Linked DNA regions of Homo sapiens: regions 1, 3, 4 and 5 are each linked to region 2. Evidence: promoter capture Hi-C in human tissues and cell types (Jung and others, 2019). All regions are on one chromosome and are shown on one strand. The core of a region is centred on a gene start or on the middle of the fragment in contact, and the rest is flanking DNA. Distances in the headings are between cores, read along the strand shown.

Region 1 (2,700 bases), core at 43-2,542, 290 kb after region 2:
AGGGGCGGGAGGCCACATTTCCTGGACTTGCTGACCTTTTTCAGACAGGGATGTGCTCATGTTGTTCAGAATTAAGTTGTCGATGGCCATGGTGTGGCGTGAAGTGGCACTTACAAGCCAGGCTGCGGAAAGGGCCCTAAGGACCACAGGCCAAGTGCCTAGGTCGGCCTCACTTCTCAGACAGGCAGGCAGGAAGCAGAGGGACAGGAGACAGACAGCACTCCCGCCTCCCACTCCGCCCTCGCCTCAGGACTCGGGTCTGCATTCAGCTGCTACCACACCAAAGGTTGCTTTTCCCGCCTCCGTTTTGGGGTCTGGGGCCTCCAAATTTAATGAAGAGATTTTATAATGTGTAAGCCCTAATGGAATCCTAGAGGAGTACGCCAGTTCTTGGTGACGTGGGGTTTCCTTAAATCAGATTTCTCTATGGATGGGTCGAGAAAGAACTGTACCAGCTCCCACCGCATGTTCCAAAGTAATTAGTTATTGCTCCCGGGATATGCAAAGAGAAGGATTACCTTGATCCCCTTGAAAGCAGCAAACAAAGCCAAGTGAGAAACTTAGTACAGTTTAGAGCCGCATTAGCAACCACCTCATTCATGCACAAGCATTTTCCAAGTGAACAGACATTCCTGTGTGGCACACACCATGCTTCCCCAGCATGCCAGCAAAGAACTAAAACAGAAATGAAAGAGTGCACCAGTCTACAAATTCAGAAAGCTCATACCCTGGCGTCTCTGGGCAAACTCTGCACTAAAGCGCCTACAGAATAGGGAGAGAAAAGGAAGCTTTGTCAATGCTTCCCGCACACTCTCCGTGACTTTACGAATGCGCCCGGGGACTCTGCTTAGAGTGTGCTGGGGAGAAACTTGCTGTCAGAAAAACAATGACATCTTCCTGGATGTCGTGGGGAGTTATGTACAATGGATACTTTGTTTCCAAATCAAGTTCAACTCATAATTTAGCCTAATAATTCCCAGTGTTTCTTGGTAGGTCAGCCTGCCTGCTCGAATGGCTTGCGGGGGTTCTTTTTGTGTGCAGGGGAAGACAGGGTACCTTTATTTTCTCAGAAACTCTTCAATCAAAACACGTTATGTAATCATAAGTGATAATTGGACCAAACGGTATTATAATCACCACTGAAGAATGGGTAGACAGCACATCTCTGCAAAACGACACCCCCGGCTGACATCATCGCCACCAAATTGAGCAAAATCGGGAGACTGGGGGCATGCCAGTTCTCACAATTAGACACTTCCTTCACATTAATTATCGCTTCCCAGGACATCTGCTCTTTCTTCTGTTTTAGTGGGACTTTCAAATGAAATCCGTGGGTTTCTTCTTTCACCTAAGAACGTTTAAGTGTATGACAAAAGCAAGCCAGGGGCTATGAGGAGAGCAAGAGGACACTGGAACTATGGCATGGCTCATAAGGCATTATTTGAGGATAAACACAGGGCTCGATTTCAGGGGACACACAGGTTGTATAATATGTAATATATTATACAGTGAATATAGAGTATGCGTACAAGCACAAACACCGTGTATTTATATATACAGGAGATTGTATATATATACACAGACGCAATCCGATGCTTTTTTTTTTCACCTTGATTTTCAGAAAAAAACCGAAAGGTAAAGCAATCTCAATGTTTCTTTCTCATTTCGCAAGCATATGTTTACAGCTGTATTGCTTCAAAACTGAAGATGAGAGGAGCAAGGGGAAGAAACCTGCATTGTGGCAAATTCAGCGGATTTTAAGTATTGACCCTTCGCGGTTGTGGATTCTGCGTGAACACTTAGTACTGGATGTTCACCAAACACCTGTGTTTGTCTCCAGAGCGGTGTGAATACTTACTTGACAATTCCCTGCCTCCAAAGGAAAGCAAGTTAAAACACAATACAAGTATTAAAAGCTTCTTTCCAGGCATCTATAAACAGTGTTCATAACATCAGATGTGGGAGGGACTGCCAGAGACTTCACACGTAGCCAAACACTGGAGGTTTAACAGTTTTCCGTGGATCTAAATCCTTCTAGATTCAGATTCCATCAGAAATGGGACTCTGAAAAGCTTTGCTGAGGTGGGAAGGAGTGGAGGCATGAGGACATTCACTCACTTTCAGTCCAATCAGCTCATTAGAGTTGGTCATTCCCAGCTGGCACAGGACAGGAGTGCGAGGAAGGCTGTGGGCACAACCCGGCATTGGCAGGGAGACCCAGTGGGGCCAAGATCTGGGAAGGTGAGGGGGTGAGAGACTGGAGGTGGGAGGAGCAGAGACACAAAGGGGCCTGGTGGGGCAAGTAGGCTTTGAGGAGAATGGGCAGGGGGGCAGGGTCAGGGAACAAAGGAGAAAGAGCTTCCATTGGCAAGAAATTTAAGGAGGGAGCCTGGCAAGACAGCAAACAAACTGGATAATCAGGAGAGAGGGTGGCACACAGGCCGAAGCTCTGGAGAGCAGGAGAAGCCTGCCAAGAAGACAGAGTGAAGGCAGGAAGCCCAGGGAGAGGCTGTGAACTCCAGCCTGGGGCTTGGTGTTGAGTAACAAGTCGGCCCTGCTCTTCAGTGCCTGTGGGGAGAGTCACAACCCTGTACCCCCTGTGGAAACAGTTGGCACATTCTGTGGGCAGGGCAGGATCATGGGAAGGCCAATTCCTGCTGTCATCCCACTGCCCAGCGCTGGGCTGCTGAAGAGAAAGCT
Region 2 (2,700 bases), core at 15-2,514:
TCTATTGTGTTATTCCACAAGTATTTCGCTTTGTCAATCTGACCCCTTCCCCCATCACCAAGAGCAGGTATGTCTAGCACCTACAGGTAGGCCGAAGTCTCCGCAGGTTAAGTTTTCTTAACTACAAAATACTACTTGCCTTCCTTATCCTGGATCTTGGCCTTTACATTTTCTATCGTATCCGAGGGTTCAACCTATGAGTGTTAAAGTGAAAGCATGTTGGTTACACATTAAGGAACTACAGCAGAACTCATTTAGTTTGACAATTACCACTGAACCGAACCAGCGACAGGGCTGAGACCTACTCGAGAGACCTATTACCCACCCAGTGGGCAACCTCCCAAGTCGGCTACCGGAAAGCACCTTCATCTCCCCAGCCCAGAGCGGGCGGCGGCCGCAGGGCCACACGTGCTCGCACCCGGCGGGCAGAGCGTCTCCTTCCCCACCGCAGCTCCTCCGTTTTAACTAACTAGCTGGAACCCCTCGAGAGGAGACAGGTCCAGCCTTTGGCCACCGAAAATCACCTCTAGGTCGTTGCTCAGCAAAAGGTACTCATTTCAAAGCTTAAGTTTTAGAACCCAAATTCGGAATCATGGTCTAAGACATGGAAAGCAGCGCCGGTCCTAAAATCCACCTCAGGACCTTATTCGGACCTTGGCTTCCTCATGACCACCCGGCCCGTACCTCGAGGGTGATGGTCTTCCCCGTAAGGGTTTTCACGAAAATCTGCATTTTGGTGGCGGCTCCACCTGAGGTTGAGGAAAAGGAAGAGACAGGTTAGGTCAGGGATCACAAGAGAAGGCACCATAGGGTGCTAACCCGAGAGCAGCCGAAGTGCAGACACCCACCGCAGATGGCGGATCGAAAAGGAAGAACGCCGCGCAGGCCCACGGGGTTTCCCGGAGCTCCCGCCGAAGGACCCACCCCTTAGGCGACCACACCAAATGCCTGACTGCCGTCCCAGCGACAATCCAACCCGGTGCCAGACTAGGACGTGAACTTCGTTTCTCCTCTCCCTAGCCTGGGCTTATTTCTCACTTTAGCCTTCGGAATGCTTTCGAAACTGTAGGTTTAAGCAACGTAAAAGATGTTTTAAAAAGGCTTTTCCCGTACAATCAACGTGGCTAAGAGAATTTTTAAAAGGAGGTCGAGGGGGGCCTCTTGGGGAAGAGGTAGGAAATGGAAGTGCATTCTGGGAACTGTAGTTCTCCACTGCTTTCTTCTACCTTGGACTACTTGTCCCAAGATGCAGTTCCACCTCCCAGATTCCCTAGTTACTATCTCTAAGCACTGAAGTCGGTGTTTGGAGAAAAGGACTCAGGTGAGGACTGGAGGTAGGATGAAGCGGAATAATGGTTTCCGGAGCGTGGGAACGGGCCGGAAGTGACTAGAGCAAATGTTAAGCGGGGGGCAAAGGGTGCGGGGCACGAAAGGTGTCCTTCACTCACTTCCAGAAGCGGTGATGGGCAGAGAATCAGCAATCTACCAGACGCTCCTTGGGCCTTCAAGGGAAGGGAATTTGCGTGGCCTGCTCCAGGCAAACTGAAAAATAGGTGAAATCTGCGGAAGCGGGGGTTCAGCCCTTTCTCTCCTGTAGCGCCTCCCTGCTTTCAACCGCCGAGTCTCTCCCAGCCTAGGGAAGAGTCTGGGTCTTGTGTGTCACTCCTTAGTGTGACACGCTTTAATATGTTGAAAAATCTCAGGAGTTTTCAAATTTTAAAGTGAAGCCGTACGGAAAAGAAACCTGCAGAATGGTTATTTAGTTGTAGAATTTCCAAATTTGGGCATTGGGAGTCTTGGATCTGAGAGGAAGTTTTTGGAGTATGTATGGGGTGCTTCTTCCGGCAAGGAGGCCAATTAGAAGCAAGTTCTCCCTGTCCTTTCTCCACTCCACAAACCAGAGTCCTTTCTAATGTCTTCTGTATTTATTTCTTCATCCTCTGCCCTCTGCGACCCCATCCCCAAATTCAGACCTTAATTTTCTCTTGTAGGGGTTCCGAATCTAACTCCTTATCTCTCTCCAGTCTTTCCTCCTTTCTAACCCACCTTCACTATTGCCTCCAAAATATTCATTCTGAAAGGTAAATGTGTGTTATTATTTTATACCTCACCTTCAGGATACAATTCAAATTTCTTAGAATGACATTCAGCCTCTGCCTTCCTTACAACCTAATCTGCTAAACCCATTACTCTACATTTTAGTAAATGAAGCTAATTTAATTTCCTGACCTATGCCCTCCCGTGTTTTGGCATTTCTGAAGAATCCAGTCGTTTATTCTTCCTGGAACTTTTTTTTTTTTTTTTCGTGAGACGGAATTTCGCTCTGTTGCCCAGGCTGGAGTGCAGTGGCGCGGTCTCGGCTCACTGTAAACTCCGCCTCCCAGGTTCAAGCAATTCTTCTGCCTCAGCCTCCCGAGTAGCTGGGATTACAGGCGCCCACCACCACACCCGGCTAATTTTTGTATTTTTAGTAGAGATGGGGTTTCACCATGTTGGCCAGGCTGTTCTCTAGCTCCTGACCTCAAATGATCCATCCTCCTTGGCCTCCCAAAGTGGTGAGATTACAGGCGTGAGCCACCACGCCCTGCCTCCTGGAACATTTTTCATCCCCTAGTCCGCCAACTAGTCTCTACAACAAAATTTCCTAGAGTTGCTTGTACATATTGTCTCTAATCTTTCCCTTCCGTTGTCTGAACCCAC
Region 3 (2,500 bases), core at 1-2,500, 410 kb before region 2:
CTAAGAGTACAGTATTTCAGATCATATTTGTTTTATGTAGTTATAATTTTTGTGTTTTTCTCTTCTAGTGGCAAAAAAGGAGATATTACAGATCATGAACAAAACTATTTCAAAACCTCGAGCATCTAGAAAAGAAAATGGACCTGTTGTAGGTAATACATTAAAATTTTAGTGATCGGCTGGGCGCGGTGGCTCACGCCTGTAATCCCAGCACTTTGGGAGGCCGAGGCGAGCGGATCACAAGGTCAGGAGATCGAGACCATCCTGGCTAACACGGTGAAACCCTGTCTCTACTAAAAAATACAAAAAATTAGCCGGGCGTGGTGGCGGGCGCCTGTAGTCCCAGCTACTCGGGAGGCTGAGGCAGGAGAATGGCATGAACCCGGGAGGCGGAGCTTGCAGTGAGCCGAGATCGCGCCACTGCACTCCAGCCTGGGCGACAAAGTGAGACTCCGTCTCAAAAAAAAAAAAAAAAAAATTTTAGTGATCATGGTAAGATAAACATTAATATATGAATGAATATTACTGCTTTTAAATTGTTTTTACCCAGTGCACAAAACGAAAATATTTTAAATACTTTTGTAGTTAAAATGCTTTAAATTTTAGGGAATATTCTTTAACAGTTTTCAGTAATTTTAATCATCTACTTTTCTGTTTTATAGTAAAATATTTTTACATGTGTCTAGGTCAAAAAAAAAAAAAATCTCAAGTGACCATGGCATGTTTTAGGTTCATGTATGTAGTTGAATTGTTTATATATTTGTCTGTATTACGTTCCAGAAACTGTTCAGGTTCCATTATCAAAACGAGCAAAATTTGTTGGACCTGGTGGCTATAACTTAAAAAAACTTCAGGCTGAAACAGGTAAGAGTTGTATGAAGTTTGGGGTTTTTTAATTAAATGCTAGACCATAAAAGTTTGCTATTTCATCTCTAGTATGTTGCTTTAAATATATATTTATTTGAGAAATGAGAGAAAGACCAGGAGAAAAGGATATGACGTGTCTTGACTGTGAGTTTTCTGTGTGCCTATTAATAAATTAGCAAATGGTCATTCTTAACTAAATTCAAGAAGGATTACAAAGAATTCATCAGGACTTTTTTGCAACATTTTATAGTTGAACATCTAGAATAATTTTTAGTTTTTAACTTTAGAGGAATTATTACTTAGTTATTTCTTTTTATTCTGCTACTTTCACTTAGTTTTATTTTAACTCTTTTATTTAAAGAGTATATAAAAAAAAGCTTTAATTTATTTTTCCTGAAGCAATGTTTGAATTACCTCGTACTTCAAGGTTTGAGGTTACTGCAAGAGAGTGAGAAGCACTGTCACCTTAGCCATTTGCTAACACTGAGAAACTGATGTGATTTTGTCCCTTATTCATTTATTCACCCCTCGTAAGAGTAAGCGGGAGAAAGAAAAAAAGTAAGGAAAGGGTTCTATTATAGTTTCTACTCGTAATTAAGAGAGCAGAACCAGACTCTCCAAAATTTGTATAGATATATTTGATTTCACTAGATGGTGAATTTCAAGAAATCAAGCATATTGGCTCACCATTGTATCCCCAGGGCCTACCTAGTATAATGCCAGGTACCTAGCAAGTATGCAGAGTGTATTTGTTGATGAATGAATTCCTTCATTCCTAAAGTAATGATTAAATACAGCATAACTCCACCCAGCTACTAATAGGTCCCTCCTATTCTCACATCTATTTTTAAGACGAGTTTCCACTGGAATGAGCAAGTTAACTTTTTTTTTTTTTGAGATGGGGCCTTGCTCTGTCACCCAGACTGGAGTGCAGTACACAATCACAGCTAACTCCAGCCTTGACCCCTGGGATCAAGTGATCCTCCCGACTGTGAGTCCCAAGTAGGTGGGCACATGCTACCAGGTCCAGCTAATTTTTGAATTTATTTTTTGTAGTAACAGGCTCTCCCTATGTTGCCCAGGCTGGCCTTGAACTCCTGAGCTCAAGTGATCCTCCCACCTCAGCCCCCCAGAGTGCTGGGATTACAGATGTGACCCACTATGCCCAGCCAAGTTAACTTTAATATGTTACATTTTGTTTTTAAAAGGTGTAACTATTAGTCAGGTGGATGAAGAAACGTTTTCTGTATTTGCACCAACACCCAGTGCTATGCATGAGGCAAGAGACTTCATTACTGAAATCTGCAAGGATGATGTAAGTATAGATCATATTAATTACGTATCATATAGCTATATTTGTTTTTTCTACTTTTTGTTGATGTTTTCTTTATGAATCTTATGGCTTATTTTGCACTTACAGCAGGAGCAGCAATTAGAATTTGGAGCAGTATATACCGCCACAATAACTGAAATCAGGTAATATCAAGTAATATACTATGCTGAGCATTTTCCTTTCTTTAGAGACAGGGTCTCACCCTGCCACCCACAGTGGGATACAGTGGTGCCATTGTACCTCACAGCTGCCTTGAACTCCTGGGATCAGGCAGTTCTCCCACCTCAGCCTCCTATTTAG
Region 4 (2,700 bases), core at 55-2,554, 380 kb before region 2:
AGTTGGAGGAATAAAATTCTGTCTGTTGTGCAGCTTATTATTACAAAGTCTTACTGTTAGAACAATTATGTATATAACACATTCTTAATCAGTTATTTGAAATACTTTAAAATTTTCAATATTCAATTCATAGCTTTTTTCTCTGTTTAGAAAATATTGTGTGTCTTTTTTGATGGAGAAGCAAATTAAACATTTGTCCTGAATTGAAAACCTGAAGATGTTTCCTATACCTTAGACATTGTAAGGTAGACATTTAAGTAAATTTAATTTCTCAGTCAGCCAGGCAGCTCTTAATCTCTGTCTTTATACCGAGTTTTTACCAGATGATCACTTTTAGTTTGTTTTTGTTTGCTTGCTTCTTTGTGGGGAAAGAAATACTAATTTTTTTTTTTTTTTTACCATATTTCCCTTATCTGCATGAATATAATTATCAGGAACTTTGTTCTTAAATGTAACTAAGTCATAAACAGTTCCCTACAAATTTAGGTTTAATAATGGATTCTTCTCAGATTGTATATAAGATCTTTTAGCTGTTGTTACTTTGGAAACATCACATTATGGAGTAGGTTTGTATTTAAAATAGTCACCCAACATAAGTTAAAAATACATAGTGATTCTGTGAATACTTTAGAATCATTAGGATATGTAGGTAATTTCATGTATAATGTTGCTCTACTAGAAAATTAGTTCTAGATAATTAGCATTTTTGTATACACTTAGTATAAAGTATTGGAAAAAATGCATTATTTAAAAAAATTACACCATTTGGAAATGTTTTCTGTAATCACATTTAAATAATATACTATTTGGGGTTTTGTAATAGTTTATTTTTTCGTTGGGCTTTTTTTTTTTGGCAACATAACATTCAGGTGTATAAGAGAACTCTGGTAATGAGAAGAATATGGAAACACTGAAGAAGAGTGAAAAACTTGTGTGAATGATGTTACCTGTTTATTTTTGTTTAAATTGAGTACACTTTTCTAATTGAAATCATAGGGCCATTTAGGGGTTATGTTAAACTTAGTTTCTTTGTAATAGACATGGTTTTTCATATTTTCACCCAAATCTTCAATTTGCACTTTTGAAAATAATTTTTTTGAGAGGGTCTTCTTCTGTCCCTTAGGCTGGAGTACAGTGGTTTGATCACAGCTCACTGCAGCCTCAACCTCCTGGGCTCAAGCGATCCTCCAATTTCAGCCTTCTGAGTAGATGGGATTATGGATGTGAGCCACCATGCTTGACTAATTTTTTTTTTTTTTTTGAGATGGAGTCTCGCTCTGTCGTCCATGCTGCAGTGTGGTGGTGCGATTTCTGCTCACTGCAAGCTTCGCCTCCCGGGTTCACACCATTCTCCTGCCTCAGCCTCCCAAGTAGTTGGGACTACAGGCGCCCGCCACCACGCCCAGTTAATTTTTTTGTATTTTTTAGTAGAGATGGGGTTTCACCGTGTTAGCCAGAATGGTCTCGATCTCCTGACCTCGTGATCCGCCCGCCTCGGCCCCCCAAAGTGCTGGGATTACAGGTGTGAGCCACCAAGCCCGGCCAACCTTACTAATTTTTTAAAAAATTTGTAAAGATGGGGTCTCGTTATGTTGTCCAGGCTAAATTTGCACCTTTAAAAAATTTATTACAAAACTTTGTTGTTGTTGTGTTTGTAGAGACGGTCTCACTGTGTGGCCCAGGCTGATTTGAATTCCTGGCCTCAAGTGATCCTTTTGCTTCAGCACCTCCATGGTGCTGGGATTACAGGTGTGAGCAGTGGCTGTATTCAGCTTAATTTGTAGTTATTTGAAGTTACACAAATTGAGATTTCCAAATACAGTAACATTTTTCTATGTTTGTTAGAATTATCCTTTGTAAAAGGCATCATTTAGGTTATTCAATAAATTAGTCTAGAAAGTTATTAATTTCCAAATATCACATGAAGTCTGTTGTTCAGTAGTGGAGTTAAAATTTAAAAAATTGTTTTCAGAGATGGGATCTTGCTATGATGCCCAGGCTGAGCTTGAACTCCTAGGCTCAAGTGATCCTCCCATCTCAGCTTCTCCAGTAGCTGGGACTGCAGTAATGGGTTAAATTTTTTGTTTCCATTAGCGGGTTTTTTATTAAAAACTTAATGAGTAAGTGAATGAGATGTTTATAGGCCATTTTGCTGTATTAAAATATGTTGACTATGGCAGGCATGGTGGCTCACACCTGCAATCTCAGCACTTTGGAAGGCCAAGGCAGGAGGATCCCTTGAGCTGAGGATTTCGGGAACAGCCTGCACAACATAGCAAGATCCCTGTCTCTACCAAAAAAAATTCAAAAATTATCCAGGTGTGGTGGTGCGCAGCTATAGTGCCAGCTACTTCTGGAGGTGAGACGGGAGGATCATTTGAGCTTCGGAGGTCGAGACTGTAGTAAGCCATGATTGTACCACTGCACTCCAGGTGGAGAGACAAAGCGATTTTTCTGTCTCAAAAAAAAAAATTGAGTAAATTCAGAGGGGAATGTTTAACATTCTTCTTTTAACATTATAGTTTTAAAATGAGCCAACTACTAAATTGTGTGCTCAAGATACATCTTTTCTTTCATAAATGAAGTACCAAATTGTGAGCCTAAAAGGAGTTAGAATGAGTCAAGCTGAATGTCATATGACTGGATATTGAAAAGTCATTATTGATTCACATCACTTTCTTCCTTACTGTGCATAGTACT
Region 5 (2,700 bases), core at 59-2,558, 440 kb after region 2:
CTGAAGAAATAGGTCATTTAGCTTCTTTAGGCTCCTATTGTGTTATTTTGAGAGTAATGAGTAAAGACTGAATAAGGAAATTCAGGAGGAAATATTTCCTCAGTCATTTTTAGAAGCCATTAATCAGACTTATTCCCAAGGAGATTTCTTTTGGTTAAAATTAGATGTAGATATGGAGAGAGAGATGTCATAGATAGATATGATATCTTGGGATTTTACTTATATACTATTAGACGGATTTTGTATCATACTTGCCTTTATTTCCCTTCAGAATCTTTTGAAATCCTTGTTATAATTTTTCTCTGAGAAAGTTTTAAAGACTTATTTGTGTAATTTTATCTCGTATTCAGTGTTTTGAGATTTAGATGATGAAAGCATCTCATCTAGATTTTGGTGCTGGATTTTTAATGCCAACAGTTGTAGCCCACCAGTGAGTATGTCCATGAAAGAGAAATCATGCAAATTCCACAGAAGCAGCTTTTTAAGCTGAATGAGTACCACTGTTCTTAAATTCTTAAGATGTAGCTGCCTAATACCCTAATCTATGCCTCTGCATTCATCAGCGTTTTCACCTGGGAATCAGGCTCACTCAAGTATTAAGTATTGAATTCGGGGGAAATCACATATTATGCTAGGGGCTAGATACTAAAGTTTGCTTATAGTCAGTTCCTTAGAGCACCATCGGGGCAGCGCAGTGCATGTGGCATATGTACATGACTGTACAGTACTGAGGCCCACTGAGGACGCCAGACCCAGACATTCCCTGGGGGCATATGCTCCTTGCTGGCAGTGGCAGGATGCTACACCATGCTTTTTAAATTGGTCCCTATCCTCCTCCTTCCCCTCTTCCCTTTTCCTCCCCCACACGTGTATTTGATGAGACTCACTGATATTGGCTCTGTGTTCCCAAGTCTCATCTCCAATTGTAATCCCCATACGCCAGAGGAGGGGCCTGGTGGGGGGTAACTGGATAATGGGGGCAGATTTCCCTTGTGTTCTCGTGATAGTGATTTCTCACAAGATCTGATGGTTTTCAAGTGTGGCACCTCCCCACCTCATTCACACATGCTCTCTCTCCTGCCACATGTGAGACATGCCCTGCTTCCCCTTTACCTTCTGCCATGATTCTAAGTTTTCTGAGGCCTCCCCACCCATGCTGAAGTGTGAGTCAATTAAACCTATTTTCTTTAAAAATTACCCAGTCTCAGGTAGTTCTTTATAGTAGTGTGAAAACAAACTCACTATACTCATTTTATATCCTCCAGAAGCTTAAGACCAAGTTAAAGCAAAACCAATCTAGAAAAACAAACAAACAAAAAAACACGAATAAATAGTACTATGTAAGAATGGCGTGGTAAAATTCTGAGGTAAAGGAGTTTCAAGAAGGCTGGGTCGGTGGGACCTAGTGTGGTCAGTGAATTAACAAATGATTCCTTCTTAAGGTAATCAATATCCTGAAAGTCTTCAGTTGCCATCATACAGATGAGGGCTGGTCTTGGTACCAGAACCTACTGAAGCTACAAATTCATCTCCAATGACCCTCCTTTAGGCATTTACTAAACCAAACAACTGTATTACACTTGTCACGTAAGCGTAATGTCGTACAATTTTTGTAAGCTGAACACTTGTTTAAGAATGCTTAGGACCTTTTTACTATTAAAGTTAATCCCTGAGTGCACTAACCATTTACAGGTGGCCCAGCCTTTACTCCACTGAAAGGAAAAAGGGGCATTATGCAAGGGCCATTGGTAAGATAAGTTTTCCTAGAAAAAACATTAGGCAGACAGGATCCTTTAGGGGGCATCAGGACGAGCCAGTTTACAGAAGCCAGAGGGGTGCTGAAAGTATCTGAATTAAGGGAACTGAGTTGACCCTTCCCCGTCCTGTCCCTACTCCCTCAGATGTTTCTGCCAGGGAAGAGGACTGAGAACTAACGTTTTAGTAATCAAATCACATGGTCAGCAAGGGGTCAAATTAAGAATTTTGCTAAGAAAAATTTGTATAATATCAATAATAAGAACAGAGAAAAGGGCGATAGAAATCCATGAATTGGTGTTTTAATGCCTCTGAGTGACCTACATTAACAGGGACTTGAGTAAAGATGAATAGGCAGCTGAGTGTAATGGCACAGTCCAGAAGCCAACAGGCCTCTGCTGAAATCCCAGCTCCCCTGCTGCATGACCAAGCAGCAGGGCCAGCTGCCTAATCTATCTTAGCCTTTATATTTGTCCGAAATGGGGATAATAACACAACTTACTTCACTGGGATAAGATTTATTTGAGATAATATATGGAATATACTTAGTACACTGCCAGCAAAGTGGAAAATGCTTATTAAGGGTCAGTTTTCATGTTTATTAGATGAGGTGAGGCAAGGGAATTGACCGAAGAGCTATTTCAGGGAAACCAGTAACAACTGTTCCATCAACTGTCAAGTAGACACTTTCTCTTTGAGAAGGAGAACTGTCTCCTAGTAGGCTATTGAGGGGCTAGGGGAAGGAAGAGAAAAGACCTAGGCTGGAGTTCCAGGGAGTTCCAGCCATCACAGCTGCATTCCAGGCACCAGGAGGTGGGAGTTGGGGAAGTTCTGCCACTGCTGCCCCTACTCACCAAACCAGCCCCGCTTCCTGGAAGTCCACAACACTTATGTAGTCACCAGCCACATCTGGCTCAAAGGAAAACTGGCCAATGTTTCCTACAG

The links. Contacts are between HindIII fragments. The study calls those that stand out against the background at their distance.
Region 1: a contact is called between a fragment that was not itself captured here and the fragment with the promoter of CLHC1 in region 2, in 1 of the 25 tissues and cell types used here (hippocampus).
Region 3: a fragment that was not itself captured here is called in contact with the fragment with the promoter of CLHC1 in region 2 in 1 of the 25 tissues and cell types used here (pancreas).
Region 4: a fragment that was not itself captured here is called in contact with the fragment with the promoter of CLHC1 in region 2 in 1 of the 25 tissues and cell types used here (hippocampus).
Region 5: a contact is called between a fragment that was not itself captured here and the fragment with the promoter of CLHC1 in region 2, in 1 of the 25 tissues and cell types used here (H1 embryonic stem cells).

The regions. Positions count from the first base shown.
Region 1 is chr2:54,945,833-54,948,532 of GRCh38, reverse strand. All of the region lies in intron 28 of EML6 (EMAP like 6), which reads right to left. Among named protein-coding and RNA genes, the nearest start is that of RTN4, 100 kb to the left of the region's middle. The HindIII fragment of the contact is 3,016 bases long and covers 1-2,700 here.
Region 2 is chr2:55,230,857-55,233,556 of GRCh38, reverse strand. It overlaps CLHC1 (clathrin heavy chain linker domain containing 1), which reads left to right and starts at 1,264. Exons shown (of 13, transcript NM_152385.4): 1 at 1,264-1,334. It overlaps RPS27A (ribosomal protein S27a), which reads right to left and starts at 869. Exons shown (of 6, transcript NM_002954.6): 1 at 849-869; 2 at 685-749; 3 at 140-194. The coding sequence starts at 732. RefSeq lists enhancers at 590-769, 790-1,219. The HindIII fragment of the contact is 6,944 bases long and covers 1-2,700 here.
Region 3 is chr2:55,643,001-55,645,500 of GRCh38, reverse strand. PNPT1 (polyribonucleotide nucleotidyltransferase 1) reads left to right here. Exons shown (of 28, transcript NM_033109.5): 22 at 69-152; 23 at 781-864; 24 at 2,076-2,182; 25 at 2,288-2,343. Among named protein-coding and RNA genes, the nearest start is that of PPP4R3B-DT, 26 kb to the right of the region's middle. The HindIII fragment of the contact is 3,308 bases long and covers 1-2,500 here.
Region 4 is chr2:55,611,507-55,614,206 of GRCh38, reverse strand. The region is part of intron 2 of PPP4R3B (protein phosphatase 4 regulatory subunit 3B); the gene reads left to right. Among named protein-coding and RNA genes, the nearest start is that of PPP4R3B, 4.8 kb to the left of the region's middle. The HindIII fragment of the contact is 4,245 bases long and covers 1-2,700 here.
Region 5 is chr2:54,793,672-54,796,371 of GRCh38, reverse strand. The region is part of intron 2 of EML6 (EMAP like 6); the gene reads right to left. Among named protein-coding and RNA genes, the nearest start is that of EML6-AS1, 44 kb to the right of the region's middle. The HindIII fragment of the contact is 3,012 bases long and covers 1-2,700 here.